Linked DNA regions of Homo sapiens: regions 2, 3 and 4 are each linked to region 1. Evidence: promoter capture Hi-C in human tissues and cell types (Jung and others, 2019). All regions are on one chromosome and are shown on one strand. The core of a region is centred on a gene start or on the middle of the fragment in contact, and the rest is flanking DNA. Distances in the headings are between cores, read along the strand shown.

Region 1 (5,439 bases), core at 651-3,150:
TCAAATTGTTGGGGGGCGGGTAGAATTTTTTGTACCATTCTTGCAACTTTTTTGCAAGTCTGTTATTGTTTCAACATTGTTGGCCGGGCGTGGTGGCTCAAGCCTGTAATCCCAGCACTTTGGGAGGCCGAGGCCGGTGGATCACGAGATCAGGAGTTCAAGACCAGCCTGGCCAGGATGGTGAAATCCCGTCTCTACTACAAATACAAAAATTAGCGGGCGTGTTGGCGGGCGCCTGTAAATCCCAGCTACTCCGGAGGCTGAGGCAGAGAATTGCTTCAACCCGGGAGACAGAGGTTGCAGTGAGCCAAGATCGCACCACTGCACTCCAGCGTGGGCAACAGAGCAAAACTCCGTCTCAAAAAAAAAAAAAAAAAAAATTGTTTAAAAGTGGGGAGGGGGGGAGGCGGAACAATGTCACTAAAAACTAAAGGTTAAAAAACTGATTTCCCACACTTAATCTTGATAGAAAAGAAACATCAGACTATGCCAAATTACTAGGAAATAAAATTTTGGATCCAGAAGTTTAAACATTTAAACTTTCTCTTTAACAATTGACCTCAATCAGGTCATGACTGGTGAAAGAGAAAAGAACATGAAAGGTTCCCACTAAAGGAGAGGAAGTTCTTAGGAGAGGAATAATGAAAGAGAGAGTGGACCAAGAGTGGGTAGAACAATGGTATTCTGAGCTACCAATGGCTGTAACCATCAGGAAAACACAATCTCAGCATCTCTGAAAAATGAAGGGGCTGTAGAGCTGATATCTCAAATTCCTTGCAAATGTGGGACTAGAATTGCCCTAAAATAGAAGTGGTTTCCCAGCTCAATTTGTTATTACATTATGCTTAGCTACATAGTAATACAAGAGAATACAAATACAGAAATAAACGTGCATGAACCCTGAATTCTCTTAAGTTGTGGAAGTCCGTCAATTAAAGTGTAAAATACAATGCATTTGCCCAATTGTTCCTTACGACGAAAATTCTGTGACAAATAAAAAGAACAATGAAAACACATTAAAGTGAAACAAGATCACCTTCAGCGGTCAGCTGGCTGTCCTTAGTTAAAAGACAAGTCATGTCACTGTGAAGTGACCGTCACATTTGTCCTGAAAGAATAGGGAGCATTTCCTAGAAAGGGGTAAAAGTGCAAAGAATCCTGTCCCCTTCCCTGGTACCACGCGTTCCTTGGGGAGGTCACTAGGCCCCCAACAGCACAGGGGTGAGTTAGCACTGGACTCTCAGCACTTCCTTTCGGAGAGGACAACCCCCTGCGTCACTGGTTACTCACTCAGGATGCAGGGCAGAAGTTTATCCCCGAGGAACTTAGCACAGTTGGCTCCCGCCCTCCCAGCCTTGCGGTCCTGGGCCCAATCTCAGGGCTCTCTCTGCCCCGGGTACCCTGCAGCCTCCAGCGGGAGGGTCGCGAGACCCCAACTCGCCTCCGGCCCGCCCAGCGGGTGCGCCCAGGGGCTGGGCAGACGCGGCGTCTTCCCTCCCCCTACCGTCGTGCCGGCCCCCCCACGCCCACCGCCAGGCTCAGCCCAGCCGAGAAGGCCGGACGCCGACCGCCCGCTCCTCCGAGACTCGGCCTGGCCCTCCCCGACGCCCGTCCCCGACGCCCGGCCCCGCGGAGCCCACTGGACAGCGGCCGGGGGGCGGGGAGGCCCGGGGGCGGTGCCGCCCCACACCCTTACCTGGCTTCTCGTGGTCATAGCCTACCACGATGAAGTAGTCAGCCAGCCGGGCCATGGCCGCCGCCGCCGCGCTCGGGAAGCGGGTCCCCGTCGCCGCCCTCGCCGCCGCCGCCCACCCGGCCCGGGAGGGCTCAGCATTTTCCCTGCAGCGGCAGTAGCGGCAGCGGCAGCGCTTCAGCCATGTTTGACAACCGAGGCGCGCTCTGCGCTTGCGCGGCGCCTAGTGCCCGCTCCTCCCCCGCCCCCACCCGCGCTGGCTCGGCTGCCCCAAGCCCGGGCGGCGAGCCCACCTCCACCCTCCGCGGGCCTCGCGGACTGCTGCGCTGGGGGAGTGGGCGGTCGGGCGTGTTCCCGCCACGCGCCGCCACCGCGGCCCCTGGAGGTGGTTCACTTTGAGGCCTGGATGCTGCTTCACGGCCCCCTCTGCCTCCCTATTTTTCCTAAAGCAGGGGGTCCTTCCTTCCGCCTTCTCTATTCTGTTTGGATTTGGAAGAAGGGATGTGGAGAGTTGAGGGGTCACTTGGAAAGCTGGCTGCTTCCTCTGCTCCCCACCACCACCAAAGATGAAATTCTCCCGCCCTCGGTTGGAAGCAAGGAATTTGCATCGACAGGGCTTTTGCTGCACGTTTCCTGTTTATGTTGTGTAGATGGGAATTTTAGAAACATGCCACCGAGCAGACGGGGGAGGGAGAGGCTTTTACGCAATCCTCCAAGGAGCCTCGGGTTTCAATGCCGGGTGGGCCGGGGGCGGTCGGCCTGGGCTTCCCCCGGAGCGCCCGGGAGAGCCAGATTCCACCGAGGAACGCGGCATCCCCGGGATCCTCCCGAACTGGGCTGGCCTCTCCCTGGGGAGCCCCGCACGCCTCGGCTTGCTTCCCTCGCAGCGGTCCCAGGGCTCTCGCAGCCCGAGCAGGTGGACTTCCAACTTCCCTGCTCAAACATGCACAAAAATGAATAGATGGTCCCGTCCTTCCGTCTCGGGATTATCAAAGTCGCTTGCTTTTTTGTTGAACCTCCTATTGACCATTTCGAATTTGGCTGGTGTGACATTCAGGTGAACTCACTTTGTCATTTGTTAATATCTCACGAAGTTTTAGTAGAATTTGTACAAGTGGTAGACCAAAGTTTTGGAAATCTCCGTGGTTTAGAAGTTGTCTTTGTGGTTGCTTATCACTGCTCACTATTAATTGAGGGTTTGATCCTTCATATTTACACATAAGACAAGGCCTCTTAGCAAAGCGTCTAGTATATAGTAGGTGCCTACAAAATATTTTAAATGAGTAAATGTGCGATTTTCCCCAACGACCAGCAGGAAGCCGCAATGGCTCCAACTCTGAACTGAGAGAGTTGACATCTCAGCTCCTGAAGATTTACTCTGCTGTAATTTACTATTTCCCCTTTCTCTGCCACACTTGTTTCATCTACAAATTGGGAGGGTTGGGCTGCACTAGAACTGAAACTGAAGGAATACTTTAACTCCAGGACCTCTATGTCAGTTGCTAATGGTAAAACTGAATCAGCTGAATTTGCAAACGTGGAGGGAAGATAGTTTGATCCTGAAAATAATTAAACCAAAAAAAAAAAAACCTCAGTCATACCCCGTGCAGCAATCCTCTCTGTAACTTCCCTGAGAGCTCATCATCCAACTTGATCACTTTCAGTAAAAAGTAATCTTACTTCCTTGGGAGGCAGCGCATTCCACTGTTTAACAGCCCTATTGTTAGAAAGTTCTTCCTTATTATTTCAGAGTTGTCTTACTGTAACTTCCCCTGATTCTGCTCTCCGGAACTATCCAGAAAAAAAAAATCTATCTTCATATGATAGATTTTTAAGGCAGCTATCATATTCCTTCCCAACTTTTCTAAAAATAGGGCAAAATTCACATATTGTAAAATTAGCCACTTGAAAATGTAGAATTCAGTGGCAATTAAGTACATTCCCAATGCTGTACAACTACCATGTCTATCTAGTTACAAAACATTTTCATCACCCAAAAGAAAACCTCACAACCATTAAGCAGTCATTCTCATTCTCCCCTCCCACAGCCCCTGGCAATCACCATTTTGCTTTCTGTCTCTATGGATTTACCTATTATGAATATTTCATATTCATATCATACAATATGTGGGTTTTTTGTGTCTTGGTTTTTCTCACTTAGTATATTGTTCTCAGCTTGTTTACGGGCAGATACAGTACAAGGTTGTAGCATCACATTGAAGTATCAATACTTCATTATTTTTTATGACTCAATAATATTCCATTGTATATTGTGTTAGACTGTTCTCACGGTGCTAATAAAGACATACCCGAGACTAGGTAATTTATAAAGAGAAGAGGTTTAATTGACTCACAGTTCCACATGGCGGAAGGCAAGGAGAGCAAAGCGGCAGACAAGAGAGCTTATGCAGAACTCTCCTTTATACCATCAAATCTCATAAAACTTATTCACTATCACCACAACAGCAGGAGAAAGACCCGCCCCCATGATTCAATTACCTTCCACCGGATCCCTCCCATGACAGGTGGGAATTATGGGGTACAATTCAAGATGAAATTTGGGTGAGGACACAGCCAAACCATATCATATGTATATACCATATTTTGTTTATCTGGAACAACCCATATGGACATATGGGTTGTTTCCACCTTTTGGCATTGTGAATAGTGCTGCTTCAAACATGCATGTACATGTATTTGAGTACCTGTTTTCAATTTTGGGGATATATTCTTGGGATTGGAATTACTGGATTAAGTAGTTCTGTTACTACTGTTTTCCACAGTGGCTGCATCATTTTACATTTTCACCAGCAATGCACTAGGGTTCTGATTTCTCTGCATCTTTGTCAACTCTTGTTTTCCTGTTGTTTATGTTTTGTTATAGCTATCTTAGTGTGAAGTGATATCTCATTGTGGTCCTGTTTTGCCTTTCCCTAAAGACTAATGATGTTGAGGATCTTTTCATGTGTTTATTGGCCATTGCTAAATCTTCTTTGGAGAAATGTCTATTCAAGTCCTTTGCCCATTTTTTAATTGATTCTTTGTCTTTTTGAGGTTGAGTTGTAAGAGTTCTTTATATATTCTGGATACTAGTCCTTGTCAGATATATGATTTGCAGATATTTTCCCATTCTGTACGTTGTCTTTTCATTTTCTTTTTAAAATTGTTATGCCCTATTCCCCCCCCCAAATATTTCCTATTTTTATTTTATTTTTCATTTTATTTTTATGTAGAGATGTTGTATCATGATGTTGCCCAGGCTGGTCTTAACCTCCTGTCCTCAGGCAATCCTCCCACCTAGCCCTCCCAAGGTACTAGGATTAGAGGCATGAGCTTCCACACCCAGACTTCATTTTCTTGATAATGTCCTTTGGCTCAAAAAAGTTTTTAATTTTGATAAAGTCCACTTTTTTAGTTTGTTTCTATGCTTTTAGTGTTATATCTAAAAAATTATTGCCATATTAAAGGTGAGATGAAGATTTACTGGTTTCCTTCATAGTTTTAGCTCTTTAGTACTTTGACCCATTTTGAGTTAATTTTGTAGTGGTAAGGGGTCTTGTTTTACCTTTTAAATGTCTTGGCTTTTATTTCATTTGCAAGTACTCATTTAAATTATTTTAATTTTTTAAAATCAAAGTTTATTGTTTTTAAGCCTAGAATCAAATGCTATTCTGCTTTTAGGCATATTTCATCTGTTACTGTCATAAGTAGACTTCCAGTCCATTTGCAAATGCCCATTTTGTCAC
Region 2 (5,385 bases), core at 330-2,829, 180 kb before region 1:
TCCTCTTTCCTGATCAGACTGAAAGTTTATGAACTTTCAAGTGTAAGTTCACATAAATACAAATTAGGTGTGATTATTGGGAGCAGGGGAGATGGGGAGGATTAATTATGGATTTGCTTAGAGACACAAAGATATATTTGAACTTGGGAAAGCAGCCTTAAGAGTCTCTCTTGGGTGCTATTTCCATGTTGTTGGGTTTTTTTTTTTTCTGGTTATACTTATGCAATATGACTCCATTTGGGATTTCAAGTAAAGCTGGAATGCTGTATTCTCTAAGGAATTAATACTGTTCAGTTTTTTTGTTAAAACAAAGAATGTGATACTTTTGGTCAAAAGTTCTTTCTCTGGAATTCATGATAAATGAAAAGAATCTTGGCAGTTTCTATGTCATTCTGCATCTCACAAGCAACGTGCAATTCTTCATGTCACTACAACTTGGTTATTCACTGAAACAACTGATCTTATTACAAAACAAGTTAAAGAAACAAACAAAGCCTCCTTCAGTTCCTGCCTTGATTCATTATTAGAATTCACCTTTCCTTTCACCTCACCCACAATCCCAGATATTTGAAGGCCAAATGTTGTTCTCTCTGAAAGACAGGACATTAGACAATTTAAACATCAGCAAATTGAGTTCAGCTATCCTTAGTCACTGACTGATGACTCTATTCCTATTTGTACATTTTTAAAGTAATACTTATGTCCTTCCTGGAAGTTCTTTTTGCATTCCAGATTACGACAGGGACTAAAGTACAACAAAGAAAAAACGCAAAAAGTCAAGTGTCAGGCAGAATAAGATCCATAAGCATACATATATGTAAGTCTGGGTCAAATTCACCAGGGTATTAATCTTTATTTTAAAATTACAAGTAATATTTATCAAATTTTGCCCAAAGTAATTTAATTCTGGCTTAGTATCAAATTTTAAAATATGGTCAGAGGTATACATTTCAAACATATGTAAGCAGAAAATATTTACAAAGAATTTAAATTCTATAATAAATAATATTTGGTTGTACCATATATCCTCTTTCTAATGTCATGTGATAATCAGATGTAAAAATTGCTACCATCCATTTTCCATCTCCAATTTTAGAAGATGTAATGTACCTGTTCCCCCCAAAATCAGAGATGACATAATTGAATGAGTTAAAATTTCTAAAATTTCCCTAGAGGAATTTCAAAGAAAATAAGCAATTTAGTAAGAACATTAGAAAATCTCAAACATTTTTAAATGGTATACACCCTCTATCTCTAAATTACCTAAGGTTCATTTAGCAAATAACTATTGTCTTTATTCTGCTGATCACCTGAAGTACTGGAAGAAAAAAAAAAAACAAAACTAAACAAACAAACAAACAAAAAAAAAACACTCAGCATCTTCCTCTGTTAAAGTCACATCTGCAGGAAAAAGGCTACTAAAAAAAGAACAATCTGCTGTTCCAAGTTCATATCCTGCCAGTAGATATTTTGCAATTCTCAGGGTAGAACAATGTTTGAAAAAAACAGTTTTATAGGATCAAATATTTAAGGTGGAAATTCCATACTCAGAATATTTAAATGGTAGTTACATTACTAATTAATATATTTTACTAAGTCTGCCACTTTGTCCAAGTCTCCAGTTTGTACCATGTTTTCTAAAACTTTATATGACAAAGCTTGTCTTAGTACTTCCTGTTCCGCTTGTTTTTCCCATGGACTATATTTACCATTTATGATTCTCATGAGTAAATACTAGTATAAAGAATAAAGTAGAGACAATTTTTCTGAAAAAATCCAGAAAAGAATTAAAGAGATATACAGATAAAAACAATAAAGGCATAAGCAACAAACACTATTCCAGTTGAACTGTACTTAATCTCCCAAAGCAAAAGTTTAAGTTAAATAAATGTTCATTTAACTGTTCTTAGGCCACTGCAAGGTCAAAAATAGATTCAAAAGTTCTTAACCAAGTGATATGCTGTTATCTTGTATACACTGGTCAAAGTCATTGATAAGAGAACCTGACATGTCTGTTTTCACATTATTTCTTCATTTATTAAAGTGATTCTCTGTTTTAAACTCTGATGGCTAAATTAATAAATAATTGCTTAGTAAATTGGAGTCCGACAGTATGTGAACCAAAGAATGTTTAATCTCCTGGGATAAAATTATTTATAGGGTCATAAAAAAACCACCTACCTAATATCTTGTGGTTACAATTACTTATGTTTTTATGTTTATTTCAGTGTTTCTCAACTCTGTGCTGTGGAATCAACCTGGGAGGCTTTTTAAATTTTGCAATATCAAGACTCCATCTCAAATTGTATAAATCAGAATATCTTGGCAGTCGGGCCTTAGAATCAATATTTTAAATTTTCTAATTATGGTAAAAACATAAAATTTATCATCTCATCCATTGGTAAATGTATAGTTCAGTAGTGTTAACTATGTGTACACTGTTGTGCAACAGATCTCTAGAACTTTTTCATCCTGCAAAACTGAAACTCTATACCCACTGAACAACTCCCCATTTTCCCTTCCCCTAGCCCCTGGCAATCCCATTCTACTTCCTGATTCTATGAGTTTGACTACTTTAGAGACCTGTTATAAATGAAATTATTAAGTATGTGTCTTCTCATGACTGGCTTGTTTCACACAGCATAATGTTCTCATGGTTTATCCATGTTATAGCATGTAATAGGATTTTCTTCTTTTTTAAGGCTGGATAATATTCTATTGAATGTATATACCACATTTTCTTTATTCTACTGACAGACATCTGGGTTGCTTCTACTTCTTGGCTGCAGTAAATAATGCTGCAATGAATATGGGTGTGCAAATATCTTTGCAATTCTCCTTGAAGTTCTTCTGGAAGTACACCCAAAAGTGGAATTGTTGAATCATTCAGTAAATATAATTTTTTTAATTTTTAGTTTTAATTTTTTAAGGACCCTTCATACTGTTTCCCACAATGGCTGTACCATGTTACATTCCTGCTAATAGGGCAAAAGGGTCTAATTTAATCCACATCCTCAGTAACACTTGTTGTTTTCTGTTTGTTTTTTCTTCTGTTTTTTTTGAGACAGAGTCTCGCTCTGTCACCCAGGCTGGAGTGCAGTGGCGTGATCTCAGCTCACTGCAACCTCCGCCTCCGGGTTCAAGCGATTCTCCTGCTTCAGCCTCCTGAGTAGCTGGGATTACAGGCGTGTGCCACCACGCCCAGCTAATTTTTGTATTTTTAGTAGAGATGGGGTTTCACCATGTTGATTAGGCTGGTCTCGAACTCCTGACCTTGTGATCCACCTGCCTCGGCCTCCCAAAGTGCTGGGAGCTAGCAGGCGTGAGCTACCGTGCCCAGCCATGCCCGGCTAATTTTTTATATTTTTGGTAGAGACGAGGTTCCACCACGTTGGCAAGGCTGGTCTCGAACTCCTGTCCTCAAGTTATCTACCTGCCTCGGCCTCCCAAAGTGCTGGGATTACAGGCTTGAGCCATCACGCCCCGCCTGTTTTTTGTTTGTTTGTTTGTTTAATAGTATCCAACCTAATGGGTGCGGTGTGACATCTCATTGTGGTTTTAATTTGCATTTCTCTAATGATTAGTGATGTTAAGAAACATCCACATAATAACATCCAGTCAGAAATACGGGATCAGCACTCAGAAGATAATGCATAGATAGGTAATGGTTGAAATACAATTAGATGAGAGACAAAACTTTCAAGTAAGACTGGTTTGCTTCTTCCATCTAAGACAGCCTGCTTCTGTCTTTGAAATCTCTCCAATCTCTCCTTTTTCTATATTCTTTCAATCCAATTCTGCTCTTAAGAAAGGATTTAATATGACTTGAGGAACATTTTTTATTTCTCCCAGGGACATTTATGTATGAAGTCTTAACACTGTTAAAGGAAAGATATATCCCCCTCCCACCACCACATGGTAAGGAGGATGGGATAAAGCCTTAAGACTTAGCTACAAGGCAGAGGTATGCAGGGCTAGTATTCTCGAAACCAATTTTACATATGACTAGCAGCTGATCCCCTATTTCACCTAAGACTGACAATTTTTAGAAACAAAAACAACCAACATTGATATAAAAATATGCTTTTGTACAAGCCAAGCATTTACTTGGGAACCTGTAGAATAAATTACAGTTGTCCTCTTTTACCCACAGTTTCATTTTCTGTGCCTTCAGATCTGAAAATATTAAACAGAAAATTCTAGAAATAAATAATTCATAAGTTTTAAATTTCATACCATTCTGCATAGTGTGATGAAATCTGTCACCACTCCATCCAGCCTCGGACAGAAATCACTCCTTTGTCCAGTGAATCCACAATGTGTATGCTATCTGCCCACCTGTTACTCACTTAGTACCATCCTGGTTATGATGACTGCTGAAGTATTACAGGGTTTGTGTTCAAGTAACCCTTATTTTACTTAGTAATGTCCCCAAAGTACAAGAGTAGTGATGCTGGCAATTCAGATATGCCAAAGAGAAGCCATAAAGTGCTTCCTTTAAGTGTAAAAGTGAAAATTCTCAAGTGAATAAGGAAAGAAAAAAATCATATGCTTAGGCTGCTATGATCTATGGTAGGAATAAATCTTCTACCCATGACATTGTGAAGAAGGAAAAAGAAATTCATGCTAATGTTGCTGTCACACCTCAAACTGCCAAAGTTACAGCTACAGTGTATATAGTAAGTGTTTAGTTAAGATGAAAAAGGCATTAAATTTGTGGGTGGAAGACAGGAATAAAAATGTATTCCAACTGATGGCAATCAAGTGGGTACTGTCCACAGTTTCAGGGTGGGAGTCTTCGAACATATACTCCTCAGCTAAGTGGGGACTAATATATATTTATGTATTTTAGAGTGCACAGCTAGAACTCAGAACAGGCCCTAAAAACTTGCTTAATATTTGAATTATGAGACTTTTCCAACATCTCACTTGTTCAACACCCTCAATTATGTGGCACACAGCCAAGGTCCTAAAAGTAGGCCAAACAAGCAAACTATAAAAAACTAAAATTAGATATCACAAATCTTTATTAAAAGGCACTTGATTTTCCTCATAGGAGAATCATTTGACACTCACTCAGTTATTAGATACTATTAGTTTACACATAATTCTAGCAAATTCAACTAGTCATTTTCCAATTTATAACAAATGCATTTACACTGGGGGTGAAGATGGAGACACGGGAGTCTCAGCACGCACAGTAGGCTAGGTCAGCCCTTCATACCTGCACACTTACACATTACTTGTATGCATCATTTACTAGAGTAGATTACAAGAATTGAAACTCTATAGAATAGCCTTAGTCATCAAAGGTTAAATTATATTAGTATGTGCTCTCAGAAATATGCATAGCTTGTACAGCATGTAGTTACACACACACATACA
Region 3 (4,874 bases), core at 1,512-4,011, 190 kb before region 1:
TTTGCTTTCCAAATTATAGTGCTAATCATTCATTTTTTTTCTGACACCACTACAGGCAGCAACAATAGAAATTAAGAGAAAATTGGACATGTATATAAAGGATGAATAAAGAAATAAATGCAACACATTTACACTATTCAGTCACTATGACTTTCTCTAGAACCTACTATTCTCATTGCTATGGTCTAAAAGGCCCCTAAAATTCATGTGTTAAAATTTTATCAACAATGTGATAGTATTCAGAGGTGAGGCCTTCAGTAGATGATTAAGTCATGAGAATACAACCCTGATGAATGGAATTAGCAACCTTAAAATGGAGCTTGAGGAAATGAGTTCACCCTGTCCGTCACTTTCGCCATTTGAGAACACAGCATTCTCTCCTCCAGAGGATGTAGCAACAAGCACTTGACAACAGAGAACAAGCCATCACCAGACAACAAACTTTCTGCAACCTTTAAGCGTGGATTTCCCGGCCTTGAGAACTGTGAAGAAATAAATATCTATTCTTTATAAATTACTGTCTGTAGTATTTTGTTATAAAAGCACAAACGGGCTGACACATTGACACAATTTGGTTCTAGATTAAACAGGTAAAAACGAGGCAGTGAAACAGTATTACTTTCCAGGCAAGTGCCTGTCTATTCAGGCAGAGACCACGAAACAAAATTAACAAAATTTAAAATATTCCAAAACACATTCTTTAAAAAAAGCTTATTAGAAAGGAAATCCTCAAAAATTTGGCATCAAGATGTAGAAATAGGAAATTTCAGCCATCGTCTTCCTGCAGAAACAATATTGTCAACCACCCACAGATGACAGTAGCTTTGTGGGAGCCCAAAAGTCCAGCAGATATGGCCAACACCCCAGTAGAAAAAAAGCTTAAATAAATAGATGCATTGAAAAGGGTAAGAACAATTTCACTTTAGCTATTTCTTCATCCCTCCCCTAAAGCCGCACAGCCCAGTGCCAAGAGAGATCCAATCAGCCTTGGATCTGTCTCACAAAGGAAAGTAAAAGCATAGTGAGTTCCTGTCTTCTACAGCTCTGAGAGTCACTGCCTAAGAGGCCTACTTCTTTCTCACCCCACCGACAACACACAGAAGACTCGGAGGAGAAGCTAGAAACAGGAGAAAAGGGTGGGGACTCAAAACAACTAGGGCACAGAACGCAACAAAGCACCATGGTTTCTGCTAAATGCCTCCCACACTCCACCAAGAGGTATTCCCAAGAACATCTCACCTATGGTCCCATCTGCCAACTAGGCTATATGTTCCCCTAACATACCATGCACCCCTCTCTCCTGTACATGGCACCCTATATGTGCCCCTGCAGACAATACATACAAGCATCCACAGACTTGGTTTGATTCTGAACATTTCAGGACACTACCGTAGAGAAAATTAAAGGAGGCTCTCAACAATGGACCTACCTTTGCAGGATTGAGAGAAGGAATGTAAACCTAAGATTTCTTCCCTGAAAAAGGGAAGAAGTAGAGTAGTTATATCCACAGAAAAGGTCTGAAGGACCTCCAGAATCCCCACCTCAGCTGACTGGTGAAGTCTTTTCTCCTGAAGCCAGTCACTACAGAGCAAAGAAGATAACATCTTCTTTGAATGTGAAGATGGCAAGGCAAGGCTTCAAGGAAAATTAAAAAAAAAAAAACAAAGAAATATGATACCACCAAAGAAACAAAGTAAATTTCTAGTAACTAACACCAAAGAAATGGAGATCTATGAATTGCCTGACAAAGAACTCATAATAATTGTTTAACAAGCTACAAGAGGTCACAGACAACTCGATGCAACCAGAAAAACAATATATCAACAAAATACAATCAACAAAGACAAAAAATGCACACACACACACACACACACACACACACACACACACACACGAAATTCTGGAGCTGAAGAACACCATAAATGAAATAAAAATGTAACGGCCAACTTCAATATCAGACTTGATAAAGAAAAGAAAGAATCTACAAACTCAAAAACAGGTCATTTGATTTCCAGTCAGAGGAGAAAAAGAAAAAAAAAGAATGAAAAAGAGTGAGGAAAGCCTGCAGGATTTATGAGACAAAATGAACCAAACCAAAATATGCATGATAGAAGTCTCAGAAAAAGAAGACAAAAAGGATTTATGGGACAAAATGAACCAAACCAAAATATGCATGATAGAAGTCCCAGAAAAAGAAGACAAAAAGAAAGAAGCAAAAGGCTTCTTTAGATAAATAATGCCTTAAAACTATCCAAATCTTGAGAGAGATATGGACTTCCATGTTCATGAAGCTCAAAAAATCAAGACCAATCCAAAGAAAATTACACTAAGACATGTGCTAATCAAATTACCAGAAGTTAAAGACAAAGTAAGACTTTGAAAGGAGCATTAGAAAACTGACTCATCAGAGACAAAGAAACACCAATTAGCCTATCCACAAGCTTCTCCCTAAAAATGTTACGGACCAGAAGAAAGGGATAATATATTCAAAGGGCTGAAAAAAACCATGTGAACCAAGAATACTATAACTAGCAAAAATGTTTTTCAGAAATGAAAGAGAGATTAAAAACTTTCCCAAACAAAAGCTAAGGGAGTTCAAAAACAGTAAACCTGCCTTACAAGAAATGCTAAAGGGGGTTCTTTAACCTGAAACAAAACTATTCTAATTAATAACCTGAAAACATGAAGGTATAAAACTAACTGGTAAAGGTAAGTAGATAGTCAGTGTCAGAATATTACACTATAACGATGATACACAAATCATTTTTAACTCTGGTACAAAGGCTTAAAGACAACTATTAAAGTGACTATAGCCATAATAATTTGTTAAGTATATTAAGATAAAAAGTTGTACATTGTGACATCGATAACAAACTGTTGGGGTGGGGGGAATAAAAGTGCAGAGTTTTTGTATGTGAGGGAATTTAAGATGTTATCAGTTTAAAAAAGACTGTTAAAACTATAAAATGTTTGATATGTCTTATGAAAACCAAACACACACACACACCTCTAATAGAAACAAAGAGAAACAACAAATAGAAAGAAATCAAAGTATGCCACTATAAAAAAATAAAGTTACAATGAAAAACACAAAAGAGGAAGAAAGAATCAAAGGACCTACAAAGCAGCAGGAAAAAAATTTTAAAAAATGGCAATACTAAGTTCTTATCTATCAATAATTACTTTAAATTGCAAATGAAACTAAGTTCTTCAATAAAAAGACAAAGTGGGTGAATCAATAATAAAACAAGACCCAACTATATGCTGCCAACAAAAGACTCATTTTAACTTTATAAACACACATAGGCTAAAAGGGGATGGAAAAAGGCATTTTGTAAAAATGGAAACCAAGGAGACAGATTTGAGTAATTATAAAACTCCAATCTCCTGCAAAACTGGCTCTGTGTTAATTACTCTTTCTCTACTGGAATTCACCCATCTTGATAAATTGGCTCTGCCTAGGCAGCGGGCAGGGTGAACCTGTTGGGCAGTTACAAATTTGGAGGCTCGTCTGGGATTGCCCTTGTGGCTGCCTGCCTGTGGTTCAGTAGCCCCCTCTCTGGTGATGGATCCAAAGGCCAGCCCAAGCGGCCACAGTTGTCTTGGACTGGGGGCTGATTCTGGCAATCTCTCTACTGGCAGGGTGCTGCCAATCCAATGTGCATGAATTTAACTGCAATAGAGAAACAGTCCTGGGGAGACGTCCCATAACTGTAGCCCTACCACAGGGTGTCTGTCTGTAGCTCCATGGCAGGGTATATGTCTGTAGCCTGGTCATGGAGTGCTTATAGCTGTAGCCCCACTATGAGGTATCTGGTTTGGTGAGTATCCTAGGTACTGCCCACACCTCCTTCCTTCTCCTGATCAGTTTGGATCCTTCAGGGGTGTTGGTTTTTCTGTAGCCCCATGGTGGAGTATCCGTCTGTAGCCCCACTGCATGGTGTCTGTCTTGGTTTGGCTCCATCAGGGGTCTTGGTTTTCCTGTAGCCTTGTGTGGAGGTGTCTGTAGCTCCACTGCAGGGTGTCTGTCTTGGTTCAGCCCCTTTGGGGGTCTCAGTTGGCTCTCCCTAATTAGTAGGAGGAGTCTTGGTTCAGCAGACATCTAAATCAGGAAGATTTCAGGGAGATTTCTCAGACGGAAAATAGAATAGTTTAGAAAGGATACTCTCGGAGTTCTTGGTTAGGGATCTGGATTTGGAAGGCCTTCTGCCTATCGTGTCTTTGTGTGTGTGTTTGTTTATGTGAAGGGAATCTCTGGAGGAATTGCTGGCACAAGTTCAGCAGGCCTAACTCAGAGAACCCTCCTTATTTGTCTGGTCACATTCGGTGAGCCCTGAAGGAAGCTCAACAGGCCTGACTCGGGGAGACTATCCACTCTTCGTCTTACCCAGCAACTACCCAATGAATTACCATTCGGAGGTCATCCCTCCCCGCCTGGAGTGAATCAAAGGCAACAGGGACCAACAGGAGAAAGCTGAGCCTTGCCAGTTTAATACTGGGTGCTGAATGAGTTGACTAGTGTCTGTTTTGTTATATGTATTTTGCTTTGGCTGGGATGGAAAATGTTAACTCAGTTCCCCACACAGTCTGTTGGGCAGCATCTTGCAAAATTGAGAATCTTTTGCCAATAGTTCCATAAAACAGAAAAGGGTGATTTCCTTTTGTAAAGTGGCTTGACCCCCACAGCTATGCCACAGTAAGCAGGGTCATCAAAAACCGCTCCATTTTTCTGGAAGCTGCAGTGAAATGGAACCCGGAAACCTGGTATGCCGGCAAAAAGGGTAAGAAATTCTTACCAGTCAAAAGTTTCTGGTGTGTCTCTCTCTCTCGCTCTGTGTGTGTGTGTGTGTGTGTGTGTGTGTGTGTACATGGTA
Region 4 (5,249 bases), core at 534-3,033, 240 kb before region 1:
CAACTTTTTATAACCATATACATATAGGCATATAAGTCCCCTCTTATCCATGGAGGATATGTTCAAGATCCCACAGTGGTTACCTAAAACTGTGGATAATACCGAACCCTGTATGTACTATGTATGTATGTATATGGAACCCTATATGTACTATGTTTTTTCCTATACATACATAACAATGATGTTTAGTTTATAAGTTATACATAGTAAGAGATGAACAATAACTAATAATAAAATATAACAATTATGATATTAGACTATAATAAAAGTTATATGAATGGGGTCTCTCTCAAAATGTATTATTGTATTATACTTGCCCTTCTTATGATAATGTGAGATGATTTAATGCCTCTGTGATGAGATGAAAGGTGAATGACATAAACATTGTGACATAGCTATAGGCTACTATTGACCTTCTGATGGTAAATCAGATAAGATGGCTACTAAGTGACTAATGGGTGCATAGTGTATACAGTGTGGATAAGCTGGACAAAGGGATGATGCATATCCCAGGTGGGATGGTGTGAGATTTCATCATACTACTCAGATGGTGCATAATTTAAAACCAATGAATTGTTTCTGGAATTTTCCATTTAATATTTTTGGACCTCAGTTGACCATGGGTAAATAAAACCACAGAAAGCAAAACCATGGGTAAGGGGGAAACTACAGCAGATCTATTAAATGAGCAGTCAGATATTTTGCTGCCTGAAACTAGAAAAAATAACTATTAATGTGCCCATTTTTCTCAAATGCTTTGCACATATAGACAATATAAGAGAAATATACCAGAATAACAAAAATGTCCATAGCACTGTGATTAAATTGAATGATCTCTTGAAGGTGAAATATTATAGGTTTCAATATTTCCCAAGACCTTCATCTGCATCCATAAATGTTTAGCTATTGAGCCATGTTTTAATGTATAACATTTAAATTAAATGTGTCTCTTTTTAAAAAGCCTGTAAGAAAATTCCTTCTCCTAATAGAAAATAATAAACATATAACATCGAGAAAAAGAATGTGAGAGTTTAGATAGTAAGACCACCTTAGTTACTTAAATAGCCTCATAAATATGTTAGTTTACACTATAAGAATAATTCTGTGATTAAAAAAGTATTACCCTTAAAACTTTTGGGAAATTCCAAGGATCAATTTTCAAATCCAATAGACTTCTTCAAAACTCAGCTTAATGTGACCACAGCTCAAATAGTATAGTAATTAATGGTTGGCCTGGTCAGATTTTTTTTACTAAATTTTTCACAAAGAGGTTGTTAAGATAGTTAACTAGACACTGGTTACGTATGAGATCCTCTATTTCACACGTAAATGACATTAAATATATTGTGCATTTAAAAATACCATTAGAATCATAGTTTATAGGAAATTTTGAATTCTATATTCTCAAATAAAATACAGTAACATAGACATAGTCTATGTTACACAGTTTACAAAAATTCTTTCTCAAAGGATGAAAAGAAATGACCCTAACCTGCAGTTAAATGAGTCTTTTTCAAATTCACTGTATCATAAGATTAAGCAATAATAGATTTGGGAGTATCAGAATACAAACTCACAATTTAATGAGAAGTACTCCTCATAGAATTTGGATTTCAAATATAACAATGCTAGCTGGTTTAGTCTTTTCCATTCTTAACTAAAAATGTGTTAGAGAAATAAACAATGAGGATGTGGACATTACAATTCTTGAACCTGGGTTTAAGTCACACTTCTGACAGGAATGTGAGGAAAATGTTTAGACAGCTGGAGAGTAGTCACTAAAAGATAGTAAGCAGGATGATAAGCATTATACAAACAGGATAAAAATCAGGATTTTTCTCTCCCCAGTGTCTTTATAGGCAAACAGGAAAAAAAAAAAGCTATCACAGGTGCAAAACCCAAAATGTTTAGAATCGACTGTCATAACAGACTGACCTAACACTGTGCCCTCCTTTTTTCAAGTCACTGAGAAAACACATATATTTGTAATGGCAAAACATACCACATAATCTCACAATACCGTTTTGATACCTGCATGAGTGTATGAGCAACGACTTGTTTTTGACAACTCCCTTCTACCTTGACTTCACCATTTCACACATACCATGCCCATAAAAATGTTAACAACGTATCTGGGAACAGGCAATGTGGGAATCCTTTTCAGGATGTTCTTCTGTCTTTGTTTATCTCTAGTTTTCTTTAAGAACTTAGTATAACCTATAAGCAAATTATACTTCAAGTTTGCAAGGCTGGAATTGTTAGACATTGCTAAACTCTATATGTTAATGCATTACAAACACCCGCTTTGTTTACTTGCTTGTTTGTTTAATTGCCCAAATGTATGAAGTAGATAACTTGCAAATAGGCCATCCATCTGCAAATAAAAGGTACGTGCTAATATAATAATCTCTCAGGTTTGTAAGATATTTTATATATAACCATATCTCACAAGACTCATTCTACAAACAATGAAACCAAGACTGTTAGACATTAAGGTCATAAAGAGTTTGTGGCACTGGCAGGACTAGAATCCAAGTCTCTGCATTTCTATAAACCGTGTTCTTTCACTTCTAAATTACCTTCATAAATCACCTTATGCATATTGTTTTATGCTAATATAAATACATGGCAGAAAAACTTAAGAAATAAAATGAAAGTGAAATAAATTTTGTAACATGTAACATTTCCTAGCAACCATTTATCTCTGAAGGTATGCATGTATGTATGTATGTGTGTGTGTGTATTTATCCAAAGGAGGGCATATTGTATATATAGTTATGAATCCTGTTTTTCTCCCCTTCCTATAACATGTATTTTCCCATGTATTTATATATTTTTAACATAATTATTTTTAATAACTGAATATTATACCATCATGTAGATATAGATAAAATATCATAACCAATTCCCTATTGTTGGTTAAGATGTTTATAATTTTTTATAATTAATGCTGAAATAAGCATAGTACTATATAAATATTTCCAGATATGTCTTTTTATTTTCTCAGGGAAATAGAACTGGTTTTCTAGAGCATGCACAAGTTGAGCACAAAAATGTTTAATTATCCTTGAATTCCTTTTTAAAGGTTAAGCAACCCCAAAATTGTTTTGTTTTTCCTGATACATTTCTAAAGAGGACAGAAAAGAAGTGATAACAAAGAACTGTTATTATAAACTATATTCTGACCAAAGAAGAACTGATTTGTGAATAAAGTAACAGAAGCTTTAGGAGACTGAAGTCTGTGCCAAGCCAGGCCAGGGCAGTGTCAGATGTGTGCTCTGAACATTATATAGATATTCTTCAAAAGTTTGAAAAAAGACCCAGCCTGGTGGCTCATGCCTGTAATCCCAGCAATTTGGGAGGCTGAGGCCAGAGGACCACTTGAGCCTAGGCATAAGAGGCTGCAATGAGCTGAGATCGCACCACCACACTTCAGCCTTGGTGAAGAGTGAGACCTTGTCTCGGAAAAAAAAAAAAAAATTAACCAAGAGTAGTGGCATGCACCTGTAGTACCAACTACTCAGAAGGCTGGGGTAGGAGGATTGCTTGAGCCTGGGAGGTTGAGGGTGCAGAGAGCTGTGATCATGACACTGCACTTGAGCCTGGGTGACAGAGTGAGATTCTGTTCTTCCACCAAAAAAAAAAAAAGTTCAGAGAAAATATAGTGGGCAGAAGACTTTGGAAGAGAAGTCAATTTAAGAGTTTGTGACATCTCAAACATTTTGTTTTTACAGAATAATGCATGTCACATATAGGCCCAATTTTAATAAGCAGCTTTTGATAAAGTATATACTTAAAAGGGACTATCCAAAATTATTTGCTTAAAATGGAAACTTAACTGAAATGGGTCACCTATATTGCTTTTGGTAAAAATTTACATCCAGATATTTTATTACTACTATACAACATTTGCATTGTCCTCACCACAATAAAACTTTCATTACGTGTAAGATAATATGATTGTCTGCCTAGAGAATACATACAAACTGACTAAACACTGTTTCAACTAGTAAGAGTTTACTTAGGTAGGCAGATATACAAACATACACAAATCAAAAGTTTTCTTTGACATCAGCAATAAGCAATTAGAAAAAAGATCCTATTTGTAATCTTAATATGTTCTCAAAGACAAAGGATAAGCTAACCTAACTTCTAAGTTTTGAATATTTTGGTATATCAGTCTCATGAACAGATTAAGGCTTTACATTTAAAAATTTCATGACTAAGGCCCCGAAAGTAAATGCAACAAAAACAAAAATAAATGAAGCAGACCTAATTGAACTAAAAAAGCTTCTGCAAAACAAAAGAAATAATCAACGGAGTGAACAGACAACTTATAGAATGGGAGGAAAATATTGTTAAACTATGGATCTGACAAGGACTAATATCCAAAATCTATAAGAAACTTAAATCAGCAAGAAGAAAACAAATAATCGTATTAAAAAGTGGACAAATGACATGAACAGATATTTCTTAAAAGAAGATATACAAACGGCCAGGAAACATGAAAAAATGCTCAACATCACTAATCATTAGGAAAATGCAAACTAAAACCACAACGAGATACCACCATGAGAATGCCCATTATTTTTATTTGTTTGCATGTTTTTTTTTTGTTTTTTTGTTTGTTGTTTGTTTTGAGACAGTCTTGCCCTGTCACCCAAGCTGGAGTGCGGTGGCAAGATCTCGGCTCACTGCAACCTCCACCTCCCAGGTTCAAGCAATTATCTTGCCTCAGTCTCCTGGAACTATAGGCGTGCACCACCATGCCTGGTTAATTTTCGTATTTTTAGTAAAGACGGGGTTTTACCATGCTGGCCAGGCTGGTCTGGAACTCCTGACCTCAGGTGATCCACCCACCTCAGCCTCCCCAAGTGCTGAGATTACAGGTGTGAGCCACCAAGCCCGGTCAGAATGGCTATTATTAAAAAGTCAAAAAAACAAAAGATGTTGGCATGGATGTGGTAAAAAGGGAACACTTATATGCTGCTGCTGGGAATGTAAATTAGAATTGCCTCTAGAGTAAACAGTAAAGAAATTTCTCTAAGAACTAAAAGTAGATCTACCATTTGATCCAGCAATCCCACTACTGGGTGTCTTACCAAAAGGAAAAGAATTCAGTATATGAAAAAGACACCTGCATGAATTATGTTTATCACAGCACAATTCACAATTGCAAAGATAAAGAATCAACTTAAGTGCCCACCAACAGATGAGTAAATAAAGAAAATGATACACACACACACACA

What was found. The method cuts DNA at HindIII sites, captures the fragments that hold promoters and counts their contacts. A contact is called where the count stands out against the background at its distance.
Region 2: a fragment that was not itself captured here is called in contact with the fragment with the promoter of SBF2 in region 1 in 1 of the 25 tissues and cell types used here (mesendoderm cells).
Region 3: a fragment that was not itself captured here is called in contact with the fragment with the promoter of SBF2 in region 1 in 1 of the 25 tissues and cell types used here (H1 embryonic stem cells).
Region 4: a contact is called between a fragment that was not itself captured here and the fragment with the promoter of SBF2 in region 1, in 1 of the 25 tissues and cell types used here (small bowel).

What each region holds. Positions count from the first base shown.
Region 1 is chr11:10,292,319-10,297,757 of GRCh38, forward strand. It overlaps SBF2 (SET binding factor 2), which reads right to left and starts at 1,901. Exons shown (of 40, transcript NM_030962.4): 1 at 1,697-1,901. The coding sequence starts at 1,751. RefSeq lists silencers at 1,299-1,438, 1,479-1,558, 1,589-1,868, 1,989-2,038. The HindIII fragment of the contact is 12,564 bases long and covers 1-5,439 here.
Region 2 is chr11:10,117,578-10,122,962 of GRCh38, forward strand. All of the region lies in intron 2 of SBF2 (SET binding factor 2), which reads right to left. Among named protein-coding and RNA genes, the nearest start is that of SBF2, 170 kb to the right of the region's middle. The HindIII fragment of the contact is 4,654 bases long and covers 1-3,906 here.
Region 3 is chr11:10,096,827-10,101,700 of GRCh38, forward strand. The region is part of intron 2 of SBF2 (SET binding factor 2); the gene reads right to left. Among named protein-coding and RNA genes, the nearest start is that of SBF2, 190 kb to the right of the region's middle. The HindIII fragment of the contact is 6,094 bases long and covers 1-4,874 here.
Region 4 is chr11:10,050,291-10,055,539 of GRCh38, forward strand. The region is part of intron 2 of SBF2 (SET binding factor 2); the gene reads right to left. Among named protein-coding and RNA genes, the nearest start is that of SBF2, 240 kb to the right of the region's middle. The HindIII fragment of the contact is 3,945 bases long and covers 1-3,756 here.